2 separate regions of the Homo sapiens genome follow, and region 2 is linked to region 1. Evidence: promoter capture Hi-C in 16 types of primary human blood cells and fetal thymus (Javierre and others, 2016). All regions are on one chromosome and are shown on one strand. The core of a region is centred on a gene start or on the middle of the fragment in contact, and the rest is flanking DNA. Distances in the headings are between cores, read along the strand shown. Region 1 holds the start of PIK3C3 (phosphatidylinositol 3-kinase catalytic subunit type 3). Region 2 holds the start of ROCK1 (Rho associated coiled-coil containing protein kinase 1).

The links. Contacts are between HindIII fragments. The CHiCAGO score rates a contact against its expected background, and 5 or more counts as called.
Region 2: the fragment with the promoter of ROCK1 here is called in contact with the fragment with the promoter of PIK3C3 in region 1 in 1 of 17 cell types (neutrophils); the score reaches 6.7 in neutrophils.

What each region holds. Positions count from the first base shown.
Region 1 is chr18:41,952,541-41,957,844 of GRCh38, forward strand. PIK3C3 (phosphatidylinositol 3-kinase catalytic subunit type 3) reads left to right here and starts at 2,694. Exons shown (of 25, transcript NM_002647.4): 1 at 2,694-2,819; 2 at 5,030-5,218. The coding sequence starts at 2,752. RefSeq lists an enhancer at 2,472-2,651. The HindIII fragment of the contact is 3,603 bases long and covers 1,431-5,033 here.
Region 2 is chr18:21,108,412-21,113,106 of GRCh38, forward strand. It overlaps ROCK1 (Rho associated coiled-coil containing protein kinase 1), which reads right to left and starts at 3,402. Exons shown (of 33, transcript NM_005406.3): 1 at 2,407-3,402. The coding sequence starts at 2,499. RefSeq lists enhancers at 3,055-3,643, 3,297-3,591, 3,691-3,910, 3,941-4,000 and a silencer at 3,261-3,650. The HindIII fragment of the contact is 6,843 bases long and covers 1,265-4,695 here.

The DNA of each region.
Region 1 (5,304 bases), core at 1,444-3,943:
TTTCTATAATAATTCTTTCCATGCTTCCATGACTTACCAAAATCTTGCTCCTTATTGGCACATTAGTTTTCCTTGATGTATTAACATATTTAATACAACTACAGTCAAGTTTTCTGAGATCCCTCTATAATACATTTTTAATGTTATTTTTTTCTCTTGATAATCTTTAAAAAGTTAAATCTATTTTGGGTTCTGTGAATGAATATCTTATAACTAAGTACTGACATTTGATTTTCATGCTTTTATCTGTGTTGTGTTTGCAACTGTTTTGGAAACAATCAGTATTACTTTAATTGTTATGAGCTAATGAGAAAAGGACAAAGTCAGGCTTAAAACAAAAAGATGTGTTGTAGGCAAGATAAAGCCAGAATACATCATGGTGGTTACACTCATGAAGAGTTCATAGTTATTTGAATAGAGAAAAAGAGTCTAGAAAAATGAATTGCCCTGTGGAATATAGCAGTATAGACGTGCTGAATTTCAAAGAATCAGTCCTGTAAGAGTAGCCAACACTATATTCCATAATCATTTTGCAAACAACAGTTTCCGTAAAAAATCCCACTATTATATTAAGATTGTTAATTTGAAGTTTTTATATTTAATTTGTAAATTTGTTTGGTTGTATATGTATATAATATTATCTTAGGTTTATACATTAAATACCATTACATAATGAAAGTAATTTATTCACCACTGGGATCAGATAATTTACTCCTTTACACATTGTCAATATTTTATTCAAGATTGAGGTTTCACATCAAACCTCACACTCATTGCTGGAGTTATGCCTTAAACAGAGTACTTGTGACAACAGTGTTACTGTTGAATGGCTGTGATAATTAGAAAGTTCAATTTGTATTGTTTGTTGAAATTACATTTCCTGTAAGTTCCAACCATTGGTGGCAGTTATTCTTAGGAACAAATCAAAGGTGCTCTTTTTGTTTAAACTTTAAGTTATAGGAGGATAACTATCATGTTTTTCTTTATTCTACCCAAATCCTTTTCTTGCCTCCATAAATATTTTTGAGAACTTATTTTGTGTAAAACATTCTGCATTAGCCATTTTTTTTCCTTTTCCAGGTTAAACAGCTCCACACCTTTCACCCTTTCTTGGAAATATTTTTTTTCTAATCCCTCAACATTCTAATTACGCCATTTTGCACATACTTTAGTGATGTCCGTCTTAAAATGCAGCACTTAGAAATAAAGACATAGGCTGGGCGAGGTGGCTCACGCCTGTAATCCCAGCACTTTGGGAGGCCGAGGAGGGCGGATCACGAGGTCAGGAAATCGAGACCATCCTGGCTAACACGGTGAAACCCTGACTCTACTAAAAAATACAAAAAATTAGCCGCGCGTGACGGCGGGCACCTGAAGTCCCAGCTACTTGGGGGGCTGAGGCAGGAGAATGGCATGAACCTGGGAGGTGAAGCTTGCAGTGAGCCGAGATCGCGCCACTGCACTCCAGCCTGGGCAACAGAGAGACGGGCACTCCAGCCTGGGCAACAGAGCGACTCTGTCTCAAAAAAAAAAAAAAAAAAAAAAAAAGAAATGACATAGCAGTTTGGGAGGCCAGGGCAGGCAGATCACTGGAGGTTAGGAGTTTGAGACCCGACTGGCCAACATGGTGAAACCCCATCTCTATTAAAAATACAAAAATTAGCCTGACTGGGTGGCGGGTGCCTGTAATCCCAGCTACTTGGGAGGCTGATGCAGGAGAATCGCTTGAACCCAGGAGATGGAGGTTGCAGTGAGCCGAGATGGTGCCAGCCTGGGCGACAATAGCAAAACTCCATCTCAAAAAAAAAAAAAAAAAAGAAATAAAGGCATAGAAAATGGAGACTTTCATTCAATATCATCATTAATAACCAGTAAGTAGGAAGTATTAAACTCAGCAATGCATTAGACAGCTAGCGGGGCAAGACACGGAAGTAAATGGCACACTGGTCTTACCTTCCAAGAGTTTTCAATCTAATTGGAAGGGAGTATTACAATTTTAGATTATAATAATTATAAAAACAAACATTATAGGAGCTCAGAGGGTTTAGAGATCTGTGTTCTGTAGTTATTACAGGAGGCCTCTAGATTCTAACTTGGGTTAGGGCTTGAAACTACATTGAATTTGAATATTCCCAGTTTAAACATGCACGCAAGTATTATGTCCAAAGTAGCATGAATACTGACAACACCAAACATGAAACCCAGATTTATTTATTCTCTATTTAGTCCTTTCCCTACTCTTTAGAGCAGAAAGAGAAAATCCTTGCTTGAGATAGCAAATTAGTGCTACACTTTTTGGGAAGGCCACTGGAATTTAAACCTGGCAAAATTCCAATTTTTGTGCTTGTAACCTGTTTAGCCGGCAGCCAGTGAAAGCTGTTATAATTCTTTTTGAATTGAATTTTCTTTCGTATTGTTTTAGGTACAGCTCAAGCTCAAATGATAGCGTCTCTTTTTCTTTAAAAAAAAAAAAAAGTGCTGTCAAGACAGGAAAACTGGAATGTAACCAGATTAGCCGTTTCCCGTATACATTTGCCCTTAAGCAAGATGGTGGGCGCCTTGTGCACATGCGCGGAAGGGTTGTTTCGGCGGGGAGTTCCGCCGCGTCGGAACTCGCTCCGGGCGTGGATTGGCGGCTTGCTGGCGGGGGCGGAACCGGAAGTTCCGTGTTGTGGGGCTCAGCTGGTTCATTTATGTTGTTTTTCCTGTACCTAAGTTCCCGCTGTAGGTGGTACCTTTGCAGACGGTGCGATGGGGGAAGCAGAGAAGTTTCACTACATCTATAGTTGTGACCTGGATATCAACGTCCAGCTTAAGATGTAAGAGAACACTCGGGACAGGGAGTGGGATTGCTGGGGCGTAGGGACGTGGGGGCAGGGGCCTGTTGGGAGTGAGAGGCAGAAAGTACGTGACTCGTCTCAAGGCCCAGATTGGGGGCGGCTGTGAGGGCTGTAGCCAGGGAGGCGCGAGAGAGTGGATCGTGGAGAGGGGCTCTTTTGGAAAAGGATTTAATACGTGGTCTCCGTGAGAAGCACAGCAGTAGGAATAGCCCTTAAGTTCCGCTGTATTTTACAGTCTTTAAAGTTTTTGCTGTTCAGCCTTTTGAGAGTTTATTACTATTTCATTGTAAATTAAGAAATCAAGTCTCGTCGTAAGTAAGAGGACGATCTTTATTTTGGAACGGGGCTTGTAGGGTGGAATGAAGGCTTCAGAAATTATGGAGAGGTAGACACAGGCAGATGCGATAGTTGAGAATAAGATGAGCACATGGTGTATTAGCACGGGAGGTGATAGAGGCCTAGAGTGAATCTTTGGGTAGTATGGCAGTGTTTAGTCAGGGAAGTTGGGAGTAAGTCGAAGATGAGGGTTCCAGTTTCAAAGGTACCAAGAAGATAGGAGAAAAGAGTCTTTGCAGGAAAACGTTGGGGCACCACGGCTGAAGTAAAGGTCAAGGGCGTGATATCTTGAGATGAGGATAATAGAACTGGTATAATGACGAGGGATGCACAAGACAGAGTTGGAAATTATGTCCCTTTTAAGGTGGTCATGTAGGAGTGTTGTCAAAGCTATCACAAATTATTGACCATAGCATCATCCATAATTAATAAACATTTCTTGTGTATGTTCAATTAATATTCAACAAATATGTGTCGGTCAAAGGCCTGCAGTAAGTGATAGATAAATTTTCTCAGTTGTCTGATGTACCTTTGAATGATCATTTCATTTTATTTTCAGAAGTCCCTTATTCGCTGACAAATACTTTACTTTTTAGTTTGTGGTGGTGGTGGTAAAAGTAATATGTCAACAACCACCTTGTACCTTTGTATGATACTTTATACACTCATTTAAGGTATTTTCCATAGCATACACCACTAGTAGTTTATACAGGATCAATATTGATAAAGGGCTTTCCTTCAGCTTGATGCTCAGTATTTCTTGGATATATGAATGCATTTTTTGAAATGTTTGAACATTAAAAATAAAGAAAAAGCCAAAAAAACCGGTCCCTTTTTTTTTTTTTTTTTTTTTTGGAGACAGGGTCTCACTCTGTCTCCTTTCCCTTTGGGATGACGTTCTGCTTCTTTTGCTTCAACTCTCATGCATTGTTCAGGATCATTTCAGACATCTATCTGGGGTACTAAGTCCCTTCCCCATGCCAGCCTAAGTACTCTTGAGACTCTGATTTATCTTACTGTAATGGGAAGAATATTGGCTTTGGCCTCCCTGCCCTAGTGTTTATTCTCAGCTCTGTTACTTACGTTGTGACTGTGGATAAGGAGTTTAGTTTATAAGTCTCTGTTTCCTCATTTATAAAATGAGAATATGGTGAAAATTATGTAAGAAAGAAAATATAAAATGCCTGGCACAGTATCTGATGTAATCTTGATGTCTAAAAAATGTTCCTCCCTCTGTGATAGTATCCTGTGCATATCTATTTATGACTTATACCACTGTTTTAAAGAAATGATCAGACAATGCATATGCATAGTAAAAGAAAAAAATGGAAAGAGTAGAATAAAAACATGCAGTTAAAAGTAAATTTTTTTCCCCAGAAGCAATGACTTAATATTTTATTGTAATACTGTATTGCTTATCTTTTCTTTCTTCTGGGCTTCTTTGTCCACTATGGTAAATGTTTCCTGAAAGAATAGATGAATATGTGGTCAACTTGAAATGAAGAAAATGAAACCAAGGCCTAGAAAGCTGGTGACTTCCAGAGGGTAGATCAAGGGTCAATGGCAGCGTTTAAAATTCAGAAGTATAAAATAGAGAAATGTGTTGATGAAGATGGGACTGATATTAGGTATGTTAGGATTTTAAGAAACCCTTATCATATATAAAAATGACATTAATTTCATATACAGGAAAATGTTGTTTAGGTAGCATACCTTAACACAAAGGTAAACTTTTTAGTACTTATGCATATATGTACATGCTTAAAGCATATATGTACATGCTTAGTACTTATGTATATATGTACATGCTTAAAAAATTCATGTCTGAAACATTGTTGGTCTTGTGCTTTCAGAGGAAGCTTGGAAGGGAAGAGAGAACAAAAGAGTTATAAAGCTGTCCTGGAAGACCCAATGTTGAAGTTCTCAGGACTATATCAAGAGACATGCTCTGATCTTTATGTTACTTGTCAAGTTTTTGCAGAAGGGAAGCCTTTGGCCTTGCCAGTGAGAACATCCTACAAAGCATTTAGTACAAGATGGAAGTAAGTTTTTTTGTGGCATATGGTATGTTACAGACTGTTCTTACCTTTCTTTATGGATGCTGCAAGTATAATTTAGTAGGATTATA
Region 2 (4,695 bases), core at 2,152-4,651, about 21 Mb before region 1:
ATCATTATCTGTAATTATGAGCTCAGTTCTGTATCTCCAACAGTCTACAGGTCATTTTCTCATGATTGCTCCACTATCCCCTCAAACACAACGAATCTAAAATTGAATTTATCTGTAGGCCTATTCTTCACAAGCAATTTCCAAACCTGACTTTGCTATTTTTACCATTCTCCCTATAATCCAGGCTCAACCTCTTTAGAGTCATCTGACTATTGCCTCTCTCTTTGGTTCCCCATCTTTTCCCTGCCAATAAAGTTCCATTAATTCTTCTTTTCTCATTCTCATGCCCCAATTTTGGGCTTCAATCATTTCTGGACTATTACAATAATAACAATTTTAAAAAACTGTCCAATCTCACTGTCTCTCCAATCTTTTCCCATGCTAACCCATCTTCCACACACCAGATTCATCTTCTTCATTCATCCTAGCACGGTCTTATTTATAAATATTTAATAGCCACAACAGTGTAAAGGCAATCCAAAATCCTTAGCCTACCAATCAAATCCTCCACAATCTAACGCTAATATTTCCTTCCAACCTTATCTTCCTTGTTTCCCCAAACATGTCATAGCCAGTCATGTCTCCACCCTCTATTCACGTTATCCTCCACTCCTCTTGAGTACCCTCTACCTAAATCCTATCCATCCATTATAAAACATACTTTGGCTCTCTCAACTCACAGTGACTTCTTTCTCTCAATTTCCAAGAACATACATTATCTAAACAATCATCTGGAATTTATCACATTTTCTCAATCTGTGAAGTGTTTAGCTTTGTTTCTGTGTATATATGTGAGACAAGGTTTTGTCTTCCATTAAATAGATTGGACTCTCAGGGAAAGAGTCATGACTTATATTTCCTTGTATCCTCCACATGTAAATAAAGGTCCCCACCAAATGAAGCTATAGCAAGAGGCCAGAAGATGATTTAAAGAAAAAGAAAGCTACTAAACCCTCCCTATAACACCACTCATGTAATAAGGAGATCGAAAAGCAAAATAAAATCAAAAATATATGAAAACTGGATAAATATTAAAAGATAAATCAGACTTCTTAGAAGTTATAGAAATCCTTACTACAAGATATATTCTAATTCCTTCCACTTATCTCGTTTAATAAAATGTTTTAAAATCTATTACGCATCAACCTTCTTTACTATCTCTCAATATAAAGAGCATCCATAATGTGGTGAGACATTTCAAACAACCCACAATAGTCTTATTTCCTGGTCAGGGATGCTTACAACAATTCTGAAAGCTTTGGGAAGCTTGTTGTAAAACCCATACACGTGGAAAAATACAAATAAACAGAAATTTAGAGTAACTGAAATGCACGTTAATTTTAAACAATCTACATTAATTTTCCTTTGATTCAAGATGCGATTTTTGAATTGTATTATTTCTTTGAATGGTATTATTTTGTTTCCTTAATCTTAATCCCCAAAATTGAGCATATCTAACATTATTTCACCGAAGACATTGTGAAATCCTGTCCATATACATGCTCCCTGAAACCTTATTTTAGAGATTATGTGGTTTTGTTTGGACCAAGAAATATTATATAACCCTTAGTTGTTCAGAAACTCTGAACAACTTTGATACATTTACAGAGGAAATGTATCAAACCTAAGAATTCCAATTATTTACAGATAACTGTATTATCAACCACTTAACTATTTTTAAAATGGGATTGTGGTTTTTCATGTCATAAAACCCTCTTTAGAATGTTTTACAAGTGACAATGTTAAGTGCCACACCACCAAAAAGACAGTTACAATAACTGTATGGTACGTACTTTTGTAACCAATAATACAATAAAATAAGTTAACACTGTAATTACCTATGACCAATTATCTTGGTTTTTTACAATAGTTTAGCAAAAAGTTCCTTCAAACTCAAATCACCTATGAAATTTTGGCTCAAAAATCACTTCCTCAATAGCAATTCTCCGTTATCATTTTCAAGGCTAAAAACTAAACCCCTAGGAGCTAAATCGCAAAAAGGAAAAAAAATGCAAAGTAGTCTTTCCAATTTAACTGTCAAACGGATCAGAAAGATTAACATTAATTACTACGATCGCCATTCAACAAACTGTATACATTGCAGTAACTCTGACGTGATAACTTTTTATAGGATGCCTGCAATAGCAGTTTGTAAGTATCTTTCGGGTACTCATGAACTGAGTCAGAATTAAAAGTTCAGAGTAGTTAGTACAGAGCCAGTCAAATGGCAAATAGGACCACACCATGAGATGTTAATGGTACTCCAAGATTCTTCAGGAAACAGAAATCTAGCATTTTCCAAGACGATTATGCACACCTGAGACTTTTGCAGCGAACCAGACTAATGCAAGAGGAAGGAAAGACATGCAAAACCCCAGACAAGCAAAAGAGAACAGCGCTACTCACCAGCAAACAATCCGAATTCACTTCCGATTTGGGATCCCGCAGCAGGTTGTCCATTTTTTCAAATCGAGTCTCAAAACTGTCCCCAGTCGACATGTTGCTGCTGCTGTGACAATGCCCTCTTACCAGCACCAGCAGCGGAAAGCAATTTCAACCAACTTCCTCCGCGGTGGGTTCGCAGCCGCGGGGCGGAGGAGCCGGAACCTCAGGGTCACCAGGTGCGCCCGGTTCCCCCGTCTTCCCCTCACTGAGGGGACCTCCGCTCTCCAGACCCCGGGCCGGGGGCAACAGCGACCCACAGCCGCTCGGACGCCCAAAGTCGCATCCCACCCGGCAGCCCCTCACGACAGCCGACAGCGCCGTCGCCACCAGCCTCGTCGCTCCGGCGAGGTGCTTCAGTCTAGCGGGCCCCGGCCGCCGTCGCCATGGAGGGGTCCCCGTCCCGAGATGGGCAGGAGCGGGTAGAGAAAGAGAAGCAGGGTGGAGACTCCCTCCGGGCAACAAGGGAGGGAGAAGAGGAAAGGCGAAAGCAAAGGGCGGGTGAGGAGCTGTGCCAGCTGCGGCCGCCGCTCGGGCCACGGGCCGGGCCCGCTCCGCTCAGAGGCGCTGTAGACGGTCTAGCCCCGCGTCCCCGGCTCTACTCGGCCCGGCCCGACGCACCGATCAGTCTCGGCCACGAGCTGGTCCACGCAGGACAGCCTCACTCTCCCATTTTGTCCCGTCGCTGCTGGGGCTGCTGCTACGGTGTCCGGTGGGGCAGGGCGAGGTCGATGCCCGATGGAGACTTAGCAGAGGAAAGGCTGGAGAGCGGGCGAAGAGGAAGACGATAGTTGGGTCCCGGCGGCTGCTGATGGGGGAGCTTCTGGGAGGGGCTGCGGTCCCAGCCGGGGAAAGGGCGAGTCGCGGCGGCGAATGCCTGGGGGGTGGGGCGAGGGGGGCTGAGAGGGACTAATATGTCCGCCTTCCTGTTCAAACAAACGGAGACCGCCGGGGCAGACTGCGCATGCGGGGCGCGGACGCTCGGAAGGGGAACCAGCCGGGACCCCGCGCGCGCGCGCGCACTCTGTCGCCTCCGCAGGGTGGGGTGGGGCGGGGCGGTGAGGTGGGCGGGGCCTTGCGGGCAGGCGGTGGAGAAGGCGGACCGCTGGGAGGAGCCGAGTGCGGGTAAGCAGCTGCCGGCAAGGTTCTCGCCTTGGCCGGCTCTGAGGAGCCATGCAGGGCTCTGGAGCGGCCTTGGAGGTCCGGACGGAGGCGGAGCTCTGGCTGCTTCTGATCGCTGTCCCGGCAGATGCCCCAGCTCTGTTTCCTCTGGGTTGCAGCCAGTCCAGAGACTTCTGACGAGGAGAGAGTGCTTGTTCTCCTTGTTGCTGTTAGGGTGGGGCAATAGGTTCTTTTTTAGGCAAGAAGCCTTTTCGTCGGCAGGTACCAGCATTGAGCACCAGTGGCGTTTGGTTTTCAGTGGTACTCCATGGACAGCCCTCCGCGAGCCCCGGCGTTGAACCCATTTACGATTCACTGGGAAAGTTCCGAAGCGCTGCAGCGCTCAGCCCTCCCACGCCAGGCGTGTGTGTCAGGGGAGCCATAAAATACTGACTCCGGAAGATACAGTCAATAGAAGTCAAGCTCAATTTAATTTTTTTAAAGGAAAATAATCTCGTAGAAAAAAATCAATATTTTTAAGTCGTTCGTGTTAGTTCTCATAACACCCCTACTGTAGTTCTCTCCTGGACGTGTAATGCTGCCGTTTCAATGTCAAAACATTCAGTGAAACTTAATTGTGATTTTTATCAGAACTAATGTAGGACATGAGAATAATGGGCATTTCTCCTAGTTCCGTTACTTCGTTGACTGTGGTGTGAGGAAAGGTGAAAGACTTGTCACTCACCCCCGCTGATAAAGTTATGTTCTTCACTGGTTTCAGCAGGAAATCTACCTTAATTTATTCCTCATCAAACTTTATTTTTGCTCAGAAGCCAAATTAAGGATCACTAGAAATAGAAAATGTGGATCTTTTACCCCATGATGGAAAATGCTACAGATGAACCAAAAAGCATCGGAGTAAAAAGCATCGTACAGCATCTGAACAGTCCACCAGCCTTACGATGTGAGTCAGAGGTTAGGAAAATCTTACACTGTTTGAAAAAATGTCTATTTCTATTTTCAATTTATTAAATACAAGAAATATTTAGATATAAAATCCACTATATATATCAAGATAGGACGTTCTTGGTTTATACAAAAATCATAACAAAGACAACTAGACAAACCAGGTATTTCATTAAATGCCTTTGC